Linked DNA regions of Homo sapiens: all the other regions are linked to region 1. Evidence: promoter capture Hi-C in human tissues and cell types (Jung and others, 2019). All regions are on one chromosome and are shown on one strand. Each heading gives the region's core, a stretch centred on a gene start or on the middle of the fragment in contact. The rest is flanking DNA. Distances are from core to core; before and after follow the strand shown.

Evidence for each region. Contacts are between HindIII fragments. The study calls those that stand out against the background at their distance.
Region 2: a contact is called between a fragment that was not itself captured here and the fragment with the promoter of LYPD1 in region 1, in 2 of the 25 tissues and cell types used here (mesendoderm cells and thymus).
Region 3: a contact is called between a fragment that was not itself captured here and the fragment with the promoter of LYPD1 in region 1, in 1 of the 25 tissues and cell types used here (mesendoderm cells).

The regions. Positions count from the first base shown.
Region 1 is chr2:132,668,160-132,672,078 of GRCh38, forward strand. It overlaps LYPD1 (LY6/PLAUR domain containing 1), which reads right to left and starts at 2,046. Exons shown (of 3, transcript NM_144586.7): 1 at 1,722-2,046; 2 at 241-378. The coding sequence starts at 1,773. It overlaps NCKAP5 (NCK associated protein 5), which reads right to left. Exons shown (of 20, transcript NM_207363.3): 20 at 3,629-3,919. RefSeq lists an enhancer at 909-1,872. The HindIII fragment of the contact is 6,763 bases long and covers 1-3,919 here.
Region 2 is chr2:132,889,042-132,892,960 of GRCh38, forward strand. The region is part of intron 8 of NCKAP5 (NCK associated protein 5); the gene reads right to left. Among named protein-coding and RNA genes, the nearest start is that of NCKAP5-AS1, 25 kb to the right of the region's middle. The HindIII fragment of the contact is 4,819 bases long and covers 1-3,919 here.
Region 3 is chr2:132,821,612-132,825,530 of GRCh38, forward strand. The region is part of intron 11 of NCKAP5 (NCK associated protein 5); the gene reads right to left. Among named protein-coding and RNA genes, the nearest start is that of NCKAP5-AS1, 92 kb to the right of the region's middle. The HindIII fragment of the contact is 4,902 bases long and covers 1-3,919 here.

The DNA.
Region 1 (3,919 bases), core at 796-3,295:
ACTAATTTACATGCACTTCCCCTCCCAAGACCCTTGGGGAGAAGCCTTGGTAATTAACTCTAATGAGATTAAAGTAACTTGGAACTCTTCATTTTCCCAGCACTGTAAAACTAAATCTGCGATAACCAGTGTGTGGGCATTAAATCAAAGTCAGTCCTTTTTCCTGCTATTTAATGGCCCCCTCACTCCCACCCCACAGCCCAGGCTTAAGAGCGAGGGGGAGGGCTGCCAGGCTCTTACCGGCACTTTGCTCCATCACTTCTTTCTGACACATGTCTTGAACGTTCACCGTGCAATTCACAATGAACTCGGGGGAGGAGCAGTCGTTGTTCAGCTGGAATTCTTCACACTGGTAGCACTGGATTTGCAGCGCAAAGCCTGCGAGACAGACGCAGTCGGGTTCAGATCCGGCCCCCACAGAGCCCACCCCGGAAATCACGACCATCCCACGCCTCAGAGCCAGGCGGCTCCCAGCCTCTGGCAGGCTTAGACCACTCCTGGGTCTCCGGGTAGGGCTGGATGTGGCTGACACCGGCAGGGGGCGGCGCGGGTACCTAGGGTCCTACGGAAGAAAGTGGAATAGTGCCCGCCACCCCTGGACCCCGGCTCTAGACACAAAGCGCCCATCCATTACCACCCCAGGCCTTTTCCCAAGAAGTTGAAGGGAGGGTGGGGACGGTACCACCGCAAGAGTGAAGTAGCTCTGGAGATGTGCGTTAGCTCCAGCCTAAGCCAAAGGATTTGCCTAATTGCTAATTGGTTACAAATTACTTAATTACTATTTTGGCACCATTCGTGATTACATTCGCAGACGTCTTTTTAGTTTTTATTTATTTAATTTTTAAAGTCAGCGTTTCTGTGCCAGGGCTCTGAGGATCCCTGAGCGACCACCTGGGAACAACTTGGGTGGAGGTGCCAGACGCCAAGCGCTGCTGCGCCGCAAGTCCCCGAGCCCGGGTCGGCGGCCCTTCTCCGGGGCCGTCCCCGCGGCGACCCGAATGGCCACAGAGGGTGGGAAAGGGCGTTTGTGAGCGCGCGCACCCTGGATCCCCGACCCCGCAGCCCTTTCTTCCAGGCCCCGGCTTTCAGGACAACCGTTCGACTAGGGTCAGTGGTCGGGGTTCCAGCTCTGCAGAGCTTAGTCGGGAGCCAGTAGGCGAACTGGAGAGAGGACGCGAGACCTTTGCGCCTCTGGACGCTTCGGCCTGGCTGTTCTCGGTGTACGCGCTCCTGTCTAGACCCAACTACCCACGCTCCCGCAGCCCCACATCTATCGCACTCTGAGCGCAGCAACCCAGCTTCAGCGTGGCCGCAGGCTGCCTCGCGCATCGCTCACCTGTCGGCGGCGCCACTCCCACGGGGTGCCGGAGGCGCCAGACAACTTGGCAGGGTTCGGGAGATGTCGCCCCCTCTCCCTCGCCCAGAACCCAGCACCGCTCGGACCCTCCCTCCTCTCAAGCCCAGCTTCTCCCGACGGTGCAGCCGGACAAGCTGCAGCCCGGAGTCCCGCAAACCCGCCGCTCCCCGCTCTCCTCCTGCAGCGCGGGACTTGGACACTTTCCCAGCCTCGCGCCCCGGGGCACCAGTCGCGGCCGCCAACTCCCGCTGGGCAGCCCCAGCGCAGGGCTGGCCCCGAGGTGGGCGCCTTGGGGGCAAAAGGGCTGGCGGGTAGATGGATTGTGCGCACCTGGCCTCGGCTGCTGGCCTCTGGGTATTCTCACCTGGAAGCAAGAACAATCCGCAAAAAGTTGCCGCGATGCCTAGGACCCACATTCTCCCGGAGTCCCGGGGCCGGGAGAGGGCAAGCGCATCAGAGGAGGCGACAGCAGCGGAGGCTGCCCCGGCTGCAGCGGCTGTGGCTGCCGAGGCTGCTGGGGCCCGCGCTGCTGCCGCGGAGACGACGGTCGTAGCTTAGAGGAGCCGCAGGTGCCGCTCGCGGAGCCTGCATCGCCCGCGCTCGGGCTCCCGGCTGCGGGTCTCTGCTCCTCCCGCTCGCGCTCCCGGGCCGAGCACCGCGCCTCCGGAGTTGGCGGCTGAGACTGAAGGAACTACTGGCGATCGGGAGCACCCACAAAAGTCTCGCCTTTTCTCCCCACCTCCCACTCCAGGCATCACGTGACGGCTGCCGAGTTGGGGTGGGGGTGGCGGGCGGGGAAGGCTGGGACGGTCGCTTCACATCCCCACCCCCTTCCTGTCTTCCTCTTCTCCCGCCTCCGCACGTTCCTGGGAAAGGGGCGCCGGGGGGCGGGAGAGAACTGGTAGTTTTCTGAGATGGGGAGGTTGGGGGAGCGGCGAGGAGGGCGCAGCAGGTGCCGTGGGGACCTGCCGGGTGCGGACTAGGGTCTGAGGACTGCGTGCCCGGCTGGCCCTTCGCACATAGGAAGGCAGCCTCCCCACTCCACGTCCTCTGCGCCTTCCAGGACTGGTCGGTACCCCAGCGACTGGGTCCAGCCCACACAACTGAGGCTGTCCCGCTGCGGGCCGCGGGAGCCTGGCGCCCCGGGAGGCTGACAGGAAGGGCGCGCGTTCCCGTGCGCCTGGCAAAGTTCCACGCCCGCAGGCTCCGTAGGGTGTCCTGTGCAGCTGTGCCCCCTCTTCCTCCGCGAAGGCCTTCTGTCAAGAACCAGCTCGGCGTGGCCAATCTGGGTGGGGGTGTGGTGGGGACACTGCCTTAACTGTCTCACTTGCCCGGGCCGCCCTCCCTTCTCCCGCCTGCGCGCACCGCTGGAGGGTGCATTGACACCGCCCTGGTCGCCTAGCCTAGGAGAACGCCGTCCCGGGGACACCTGCCGTGAGGTCCTACCAGAAAGCAAATCAGGGTGAGGAAGAGGGTTGTTCTCCTCCATTCCTTGTCTCCCAAACGCCAGCCGGCTCCATTCTGCTTTCCCCAAAGCCACCGATTATTAGCACATACTCCCACGTCCTCTCCTGAAAGGCCATCCCAGCCTCGGACTCGGCCTCTGGCTGCTCCCCACACCCCTCAAATTCGTCTTCTTTCCGCAAAGTCCAAGTGACCCACCTTGCGGACTCCCGGGGATGCCCCGGTGCTATCTTCGCCTTCCTTCCCGAGCCTTGCAGCAGGTGGTGCGGGAGACCGCTTGCCCGCCGGAGTGCGTTGGTGCCCCCGCCCCCAATCCGCACATTCCCATCCCCTTTCCGCACATCCTTAGGGAGCATCCATTTCCGTGGAAATCGCCTCCTAAGCTTTAGCTCCTCTTCACCCTTTTCTCCCCCGGCCACTTCTGGGGGCAGCTCTCTCACGCCGGGACGCTGATCATTTATTTCTGCATCCTCCCAGCAGAGCTGGTCTGTAAAGGGGCTTAAATGACTTTCTTTGTAATTCCTCTGCAGAGATCGTTCCATATCTGCCTCAGGCTCCTTCTCTCCCTCCCTCCCTCCCTCTCCCCCTTCTTTCATTTCTATTTGGTTAACCCCTCGGGGAGACTGAAATGCTTTGACCATTACTCACCTGTCTGCAGACTCTGATCTTACAATTGGCTAAATTACTATCTCTGGAGCAAAAGGGCCAATTTATTTATTCCTTCTGGGAACCCATTGTAAGAGCACGTGTGAGTCATGATTCAAGTAACTGACTGGGCCAAAAGGTCCTTGAGCAAGTTATTTTCTGTTTTCAGAGGGTGCAAATGTGATATAACTTTTATTCAGAAAGGAAACAAAAAGATTTTTTAAAGTCTGAAAGACAAGGACATTTTACATAATTTTCATTTAAGATAAAATAAAACAAATTGCACAAATTAACCAAATAACACTGATCATACAATACTCTTTAAAGAAACAATTATGTGCTAAAGTAGCCATATAGATCCTAAAAATATTTCTATTGGGCCTAGTTTACAAGCTCCTGTACATAAGTAATTATAAATAGTTCACATCTAGAAAAAATACACATAACCTTTAA
Region 2 (3,919 bases), core at 1,000-3,499, 220 kb after region 1:
AGGCAGTCTGAATGTTTTGAGGTGGTATAAAGCCCCAGCTATGCAGACAGGCCCTGGAGGATGAGATGCCTTGCAGAGAGAGATAGGCCAGGGGACACTGAGAGGCCAGCCATGGGAGTGAAGGAGCCATCTTGGAAATGGATCCTTTCACCTCCCAACATCACATAGATTGGAGATGAACTATCCAGCTGTGTCCTCCCCAAATTTCTGACCCATAAAATTGTGAGAAAAATTAAATTGTTATTTTAAGCCTCAAAGTGTTGAGATAGTTGGTTACATAGCAATAAATAAGTGGAACAGTCATATTCAGGAAACGAGGTGGAACATCAATTCTTTTATGTGTACATTCAATTACTGGTCCTTTGCTGTACCTGCAGGAGCTATGCTGGGGGAAAATAAAGATGGATAAAATATACAGGGGCCACCATAAAGAAAACAATAGTCTAATAGAAGAAACAAGTTAATTTCTCACATTGAAAACTACAATGCAATAGGATCAGAACAAAAAAAAAATCAACAAACTTCAGATGAGGTAGGAAAGAGGTGACCGACCCTTGAATCAGTCTACTCAACAGGCAATCAAAACAATGACAAAGGTGCACATTGGACTAAATAAAAATAACACAGTTTTGAACAAAATGCCAAGAAAATGACACCTGACTTGTATTCAAAAAGCACATTATTCAACCAGGCTAGAATCCTGGATGTAAATATTGTCAAATTATTATGAAAGCAAATAATGTCAGACACTATCTAATACCCACTGCAGAGAAAACCTTGGGTTCAACAATGGCAAAAAAAATAAATAAATAAAATAACAAACTGATCATATGCAAATGAAACAGGTAGAAATGAACAGGGTTGAGTGGTGTGGAGGAAAGAAGGTGGAAAGAAGATGTCCTCTGAAGGCAAAAAGAGAGAGAAAGAGAAGAAAACGACCAATTCACAGTAGTTAAAAAAGGCTGCCTCCCTGTGGCTTTCCCACGGCAAAAGCTGGTCTTTTCCAGAGTGACATCTTTCAAGCTTGCTGAAACTCCTTCAATTCAGGAAAGGCAGACAGGTCAGAATAAGATCAGAAAAGGTATTTCTCTAAAATACCAATTCAACTCATGGTTTGGCCCCATAGGTAAGAAAAGGTGCTTCTGTACTTTATTTTCTCTTTGGAATTTTTTCCAGCCAAAAATGTGCTGCTTTATGATGGCCAGCCTGTGTCAGAGTCCTGTGCCACTCTACTTAAATAACACACTTCACAACTCTAGGCCATCCCAACAATTTCATTTGGGGAGGCCAAAGGGCTGTACCTGCAGGAGCTATGCTAGGGGGTATACAAAGATGGATAAAATATAGAGAGGCCACCATAAAGAAAAAAAATAGTCTAATAGAAGAAACAAGTTAGTTTCTGACAGTGAAAACTACAGGCTTCCAAGCAAAATACACAGGTCCCCAAAATGTTCCTAATTCCCCTGCAGTCTGTTCTGTTTTGAAAGCTGTTTAAAAACATCCTGAGGAAAAAGTCCCAGGGGAGTGGCTAAGCGTGCCAGCCAGGTGAGTGCATTTTCATCTGCTAGAGTGATATAAAGTCTGAATACAAGGAACACCAAGAACTGGAGCTGGAATATTGAATCCCCTTCCCTCTATGATTATAATTCAAACTTACGGGGTTTCTGAATCACTCATCTTATCACACCTGGCTGCCATAGTGGCCATATGTGTAGCGTAGTTGGCTAAAGGGTGTTCCCCACTGATTGTATTTGAGAGCTTGTACAGTATCCAGACCCAGACAATGTCTAGGGCTGCTGGGCATCTTGGAGGCAAATGTTATCATCCTAGAAAATGTCAATAAAGACATTAAGCTCTGACCACCTACAGAGAAACAAATACGTGTACCCATACATGTGTGAAGGCATCCTCACAATGTCCTTATTCTTGGACTCAACCCATTAGGTTTAGGACCAGCACAAGACACTAAGGATATAAACTACATTAAAATGAAGTCTTTGTTTAAAAAAGTTGAGGAGCTACGCCGTGAGAAGATGTGATGTAGAACCTGTCCACAGGTTCATTTTTGAAGAGTTGAATAGAAAACACTTCATAATGAAACCTCTGTGTACTTCTAGAATTTAAACGTTTGGATGGGGCTTCAGGCCAGTGGTTGGAAACTTGAGTGTGCATTGGAATCACTTGGGGGGTTATGGGATCACAGACTGTGGGGGAGCCACCCTCACATTTGGATTCAGGGCACCTACAGTAGGGTCCAATAACTGACATCTCTAACAAGTTCCCAGGTGCTGCTGCTGGCCTGGGAACAGCACTTTGAGAGCTAGTGCTCAAGATGGATCAACTTCAGGGTGAAGGTGGGTGTCACCTCCTTCTTCCCCCATGCTGCCATTGCCTTGGAAGCATTCAGAAGTCTCTTACTGCTTCTCTGGAACTGGGGGGTGGTAACCACACAATTTTATACTTTTCCTTCTCTTGTTTTGTTTATGAGTCTGCCTCTCTCTCCTACATCAGTGACTCTCATTGGGAGAAAACAGCCTAAGGGCATAGATCAGTGTCTCTCTGTGTGTGCATATGCATATGGGTGAGTAGAACAGAAAAAAACTGTGTGTGATTTGGAAAACCATTATTTGATGCTGCATTACATCTGGAAAATAATAAACGGTAATGCTTTCATGATACAAGAAGTCAGCTCGATAATTTCCTTGCCCAGGGGGATATACAGAAAAGAAATCCATGCCTGGAGTGCGAAGGCAAGAGGAGTGGTAAAGCAGATCTATCTTCCTAGGAGGAGAGTAAGATAATCTGATGGGAAGTGACGGCGTGCTTTTCAAATTTCCTTTTATTTGAAATGGATGTAAAAATAAATGTCTGTCACTGTTTTGGGTTGAATGAGATGATGAAGGCAGAATGTAACGAACATGGAGCCTGGCCCTCTGTATGGTTTGGTGAATGGCAGTTTCCTTCAGTCTTTTGTAAAACAGCTCCCATTTGTAACCACGGCCACTCACAGGCTTTAATGCAGGGGGTGGTGGTGTCAGCCAGGCCAGAAATTGTCCCTGCTGAGGGAGAGATTTTGGCCAACAGAAATGTACCATGGGTCCTCTGGATTGGACAGTTTAAACAGGCTCACATACAGATTAGCGTCAGGTCCTGATTCTTTTAACCCACAGTCTTCCTCTCTCACCCTTTCTTCTTCTCTTTCTCACCTTCTTACTTCTGCTTCCAGATGCCCATTTATCAACTCATTATTACATTTATCAACTCAATATTACATATCTGAGCTCAAGATACAACACGTATTTTCCAATTATGAGAGAAGCTGAAATTTTAGGGACTCCAAAATTTCTTTGTAAAAACAACCTTTAAACCTTAAAACATATTCCATCCCCCACCACCAGATGTGCTTTCAGAGATACAAATCTATGACTTTCAAGCTAGGGTGGACTAGAGTGGATTTTTCGGTTTTAGAAGCCTCACAGAGAAATTTCATGGAGCTAAAAAATGTAAAACAATCTGATCACTCTGTTGAGTAGAGAATATTTGTGGCATTAACCACCAGGTATTTTAGAAGTTAAACTATGCAAAACTCATTGACTGATTTGCAGAAAAGAATATCAATTAATATATTGACTTTATTACCTCATTTAATTGAAGGCCCCCAAACTCTGAGGTAGATAGGATCAGCTCCATTTTACAGATGAAGAAAATAAGAGACTATCAATATAAATCCTTTGTGTTGCAGAGATAGTTTATTTATATACACAGTCCTTATTCCTTACTAAGGACTTAATACAGTACTTTGAAGAAAAAAATATAAATGACAATAGCCTGATAAATGCCTAAATACCAGCGTGTTTGAACCCTCTCTACCAAGAAGCAGGTAATTCAGGTCAGGAAAAAGACTGAGAATTTCTCTAGA
Region 3 (3,919 bases), core at 671-3,170, 150 kb after region 1:
ACAGACAGGAAGGGGAGAGGTCTGAAAGCCATGCTTGCTTTCTCAGCTGGGTAGCTCACAGTCTGGGGCAAAGTGTGAGTGGGGAACTGCAGGAGTGAGACCCACCTCACCAACTGCCTGGGAGCTGGGTGAGGCTATCCCCCACTTCCCTGGTGAACTATATAACACAGCAGAGACAGCCAACATCCCCTCTGGAACATAACCCCATTGGCCTGAGAATCACTCCCCCATGCCCCACAGTGGCCGTGGCAAGCTCCACCCAAGGAGAGTCTGAGCCCACACCTGCCTAACCCTGCCCTGACTGGGTAGTACTTCCTTACCTGCCCTGGTAGCTGAACACAAAACATAGAAACTCTTGGGAGCTTTATGGCCCCACCCATTACCTGAAAAACCAAAATACTCTGGCCATCTTAGGGCAAGCTTAGAGTCCCCTACTAGCATCTTGGCTGCTGCTCTCTTGAAAGTGCCACCTCCTGGCTGGAGGCCAACAAACTCAGGCCATTACAGCAACTCAGGACAGAATCACCTTGATCCCAGGAAGAAGACAAAACTTGATTCCACTGCCTGCAACACCTTGGCTAACCAGAGGTCCTGAGGGTGTCCATGTGACAACTTCACTGCTAGCATAACCAGTATTCAAGAAAGCCAGCACATTGAACATACGTATAACCATGGACACTTACAGAGTCCACTTCACTCCCCTGCCACCTCTACCAGGGCAGGTACTGGTTTCCATGGCTGAGAGACCTGAAGATGGACCGCATCACAGGACTTTTTGGAGACATTCCACAGCACCAGCCTGGAGCCTGATAGCCCTGCTGCATGGATAGACCCAGAAGAGCAACAACAGTCACTGCAGTCCAGCTCTCAGGAAGCCCCATTCCCAGGGGTAAGGGGAGAGCACATCAAGGGAGCACCCCGTGGGACAAGAGAATCTGAACAGCAGGCTTGGCCAGTAGGTCTGGCCTCTCCATTGAATTAGTCTACCCAAATGAGAAAGAACCAGAAAAGTAATTCTGGTAATATGACAAAACAGGGTTCTATAACAAGCCCAAAAGATCACACCAGCTCCCCAGCAATGGATCCAAACTAAGAAGAAATCTCTGAATTGCCAGATAAAGAATTCAGAAGGTTGATTATTAAGCTACTCAAGGAGATACAAGAGAAAGGTGAAAATCAACTTCAAGAAATAAAAAAAATGGGAAATGGATACAAAATTATCCAGAGAAATAGATATCATAAAGAAAAACAATCACAACTTCTGGAAATGAAAGACATGCTTAGAGAAATGCAACATGCAGGGAGAGTTTCAACAATAGACTAGGATAAGTAGAAGAAAGAGCTTCAGAACTTGAAGTCAAGGCTTTTGAATTAACCCAATCAGACAAAGACAATGAAAAAATAATTTAAAAAAATGAACAAAACCTCTAAGAAATTTGTGATTTTGTTAAATGGCCAAACCTAAGAATAATTGATGTCCCTGAGGAAGAGAAATCTAAAAGTTTGGAAAACTTATTTGTGGGAATAATTGAGGAAGACTTGGCCTTGCTATAGAGATCTAGACATTCAAATAGAAGAAGCTCAAATAACACCTAGGGAATTCATTGCAAAAAGATCATCACCTAGGCACATAGTCATCAGATTATCTAAAGTCAAAACAAGGGAAAGTATCTTAAGAGCTGTGAGACAAAACCATAAGATAATCTATACATGAAAACCTATCAAATTAACAGCAGACTTCTCAGCAGAAATCTTATAAGCCAGAAGGGATTGGGGTCCAATCTTCAGCCTCCTGAAACAAAATAATTGTCAGCCAAGGAATGTGTATTCAGTGAAACTAAGCTTCATAAATGAAGGAGAGATAAAGTCTTTTTCAGATAAATAAATACCGAGAGAATTCATCACAACTCAGTCAGCACTATATAAAATGCTAAAAGGAGTTTAAAATCTTCAAAGAAAACCTCAGAATACACCACAATAGAACTCCCTTAAAGCATAAATCTCACAGGGCCTATAAAACAATAACACAATGGAAAAAAAACCCAAGGTATTAAGGCGACAACTAACATGATGAATAGAACAATACCTCACATCTCAATACTAATGTTGAATGTAAATAGCCTAAATGCTCTACTTAAAAGATACAGAATGGCAGAATGGATAAAAATCCATCAACCATGTATCTGCTGTCTTTAAGAGACTCACCTAACACATAAGGACTCACATAAACCTAAGGGATGGGGTGGAAAAATATACTCCATGCAGATGGAAACCAAAAGCAAGCTGACAAAACATACTTTAAAGCAACAACAGTAAAAAAGACAAAAGAGGGACATTATATAATGATAAAAGGAATAATCCAACAGGAAAATATCAGAATCCTAAATATATATGCACCTAACACTGGAGCTCCCAAATGTATTGGGGTGACTGTGGGTAATACATCTTTTTGGATGTGAATGTTTTCCTCTTGAAGTTCAGAATAAATAAGGAATATCTCAGGATTTCATTCAGCTGCAAAAACAAACAAACAAAAAACAGAAAGCCTCACTTAACAGTTACTTCAGCTTATAGGGATTTATATTTCTTACATAGCCAAATGTCCAGAGGTAGGCAGTCCAGGGCTTGTGTAACAGTTCATTGATCTTGTCAAGGAACTAAACTCTTCCCATCTTTCTGCTCTGCTCTGCCCTCTTTTACTAGGGGCTCATGCCAAGATGACTGCTGCACATCCTGGCATTGCTTCCACCTTCCAGATAGAGAGAAGGGTTAAGAGGGGATGAAGAACATCTAGAGCCATATCTGTCCCTCCTTTATCAGGTAACATAAGTTTTGTCATAAATCTCTATGGCAGATTTCCTTTTAGGTCTCATAGGCCAGAACTAGGAGAAAAGGAGGCTGAGAAATAGCATATTTGGCTTTCTAATCTCTGAAGTAGAAGAAAGAAGGGAGAAGAATATTGATTGTGTATGGTGGTCACAAGTGCTGCCTATCACATAAATCTAGCTCTCTTTCCTTTTGGGAGTATGTTCATCAGTTGTGCTTCCTGACCCCTCTGTGGTTGGGTGGGGCCCTGTGACTAGTTCTGGCTAATGAATTGTGGATGGAATGCTTCAAGCAAGAGCATTTTAAATACAGATGTGAAACCCCCTCAGAGCTTTCATCTTGCTGGCCTAGTGACTGGCAATGTTTGAGATGGTGGCTGGTCCATCAGCAAGGTCTCCTGAGTGTTTAACATGTGCACAGCAAGACTGATGACTCATAAAAGACATGTGGCATGAGAAAGAAATAGACTTTTGTATTTGAAGCCATGGAGATTTTATGGTTGTTTGTTACCACAGCATGACCTATCCTATTCTAACTGATTCAGTGAGTCAACTTGAAATGTCAGCAGCCATAAGAACAAGTTGGAGAGGCAAAAATAGTTTCAGTTTCAGACAAGGCCCATGTATTAGAGATCCCTGAAAACCAACATAGATCTCAGTGGGACAATATCCTGAAGCCAACTTTCTCTACTTCAAGAGCAGTTAAGTGGACTTTAATTCATAATGTTACACAGCTATCCTCGTACTGCCCACAGGACACCGACAAATAATCTCCCTCTCCGGTGTCTCTACATAGGTGAGTGGCTAATGAAACATAGCATGTTCAAGGTAAGCCACCACATTTAATATGAACTTCCAGGATGACCATCCACAAAAATTTAATGCATGATAATGAGGGATGGCACAGTTTATGACCAGCCTTGTTAACGATATAGTTCACATCTCCACCCCTAAGAGGAAGACAAAAATCTGGAGGGGGAAGGGAGGTGACTAAGAGTTAAAACGTTAATGGCCTCTTCAGTTACACTGAGTGTCTGATTTTTATCTCTAAATACAGTATTTCACATCCTCAGCAAAATCAATAGGAATGTATT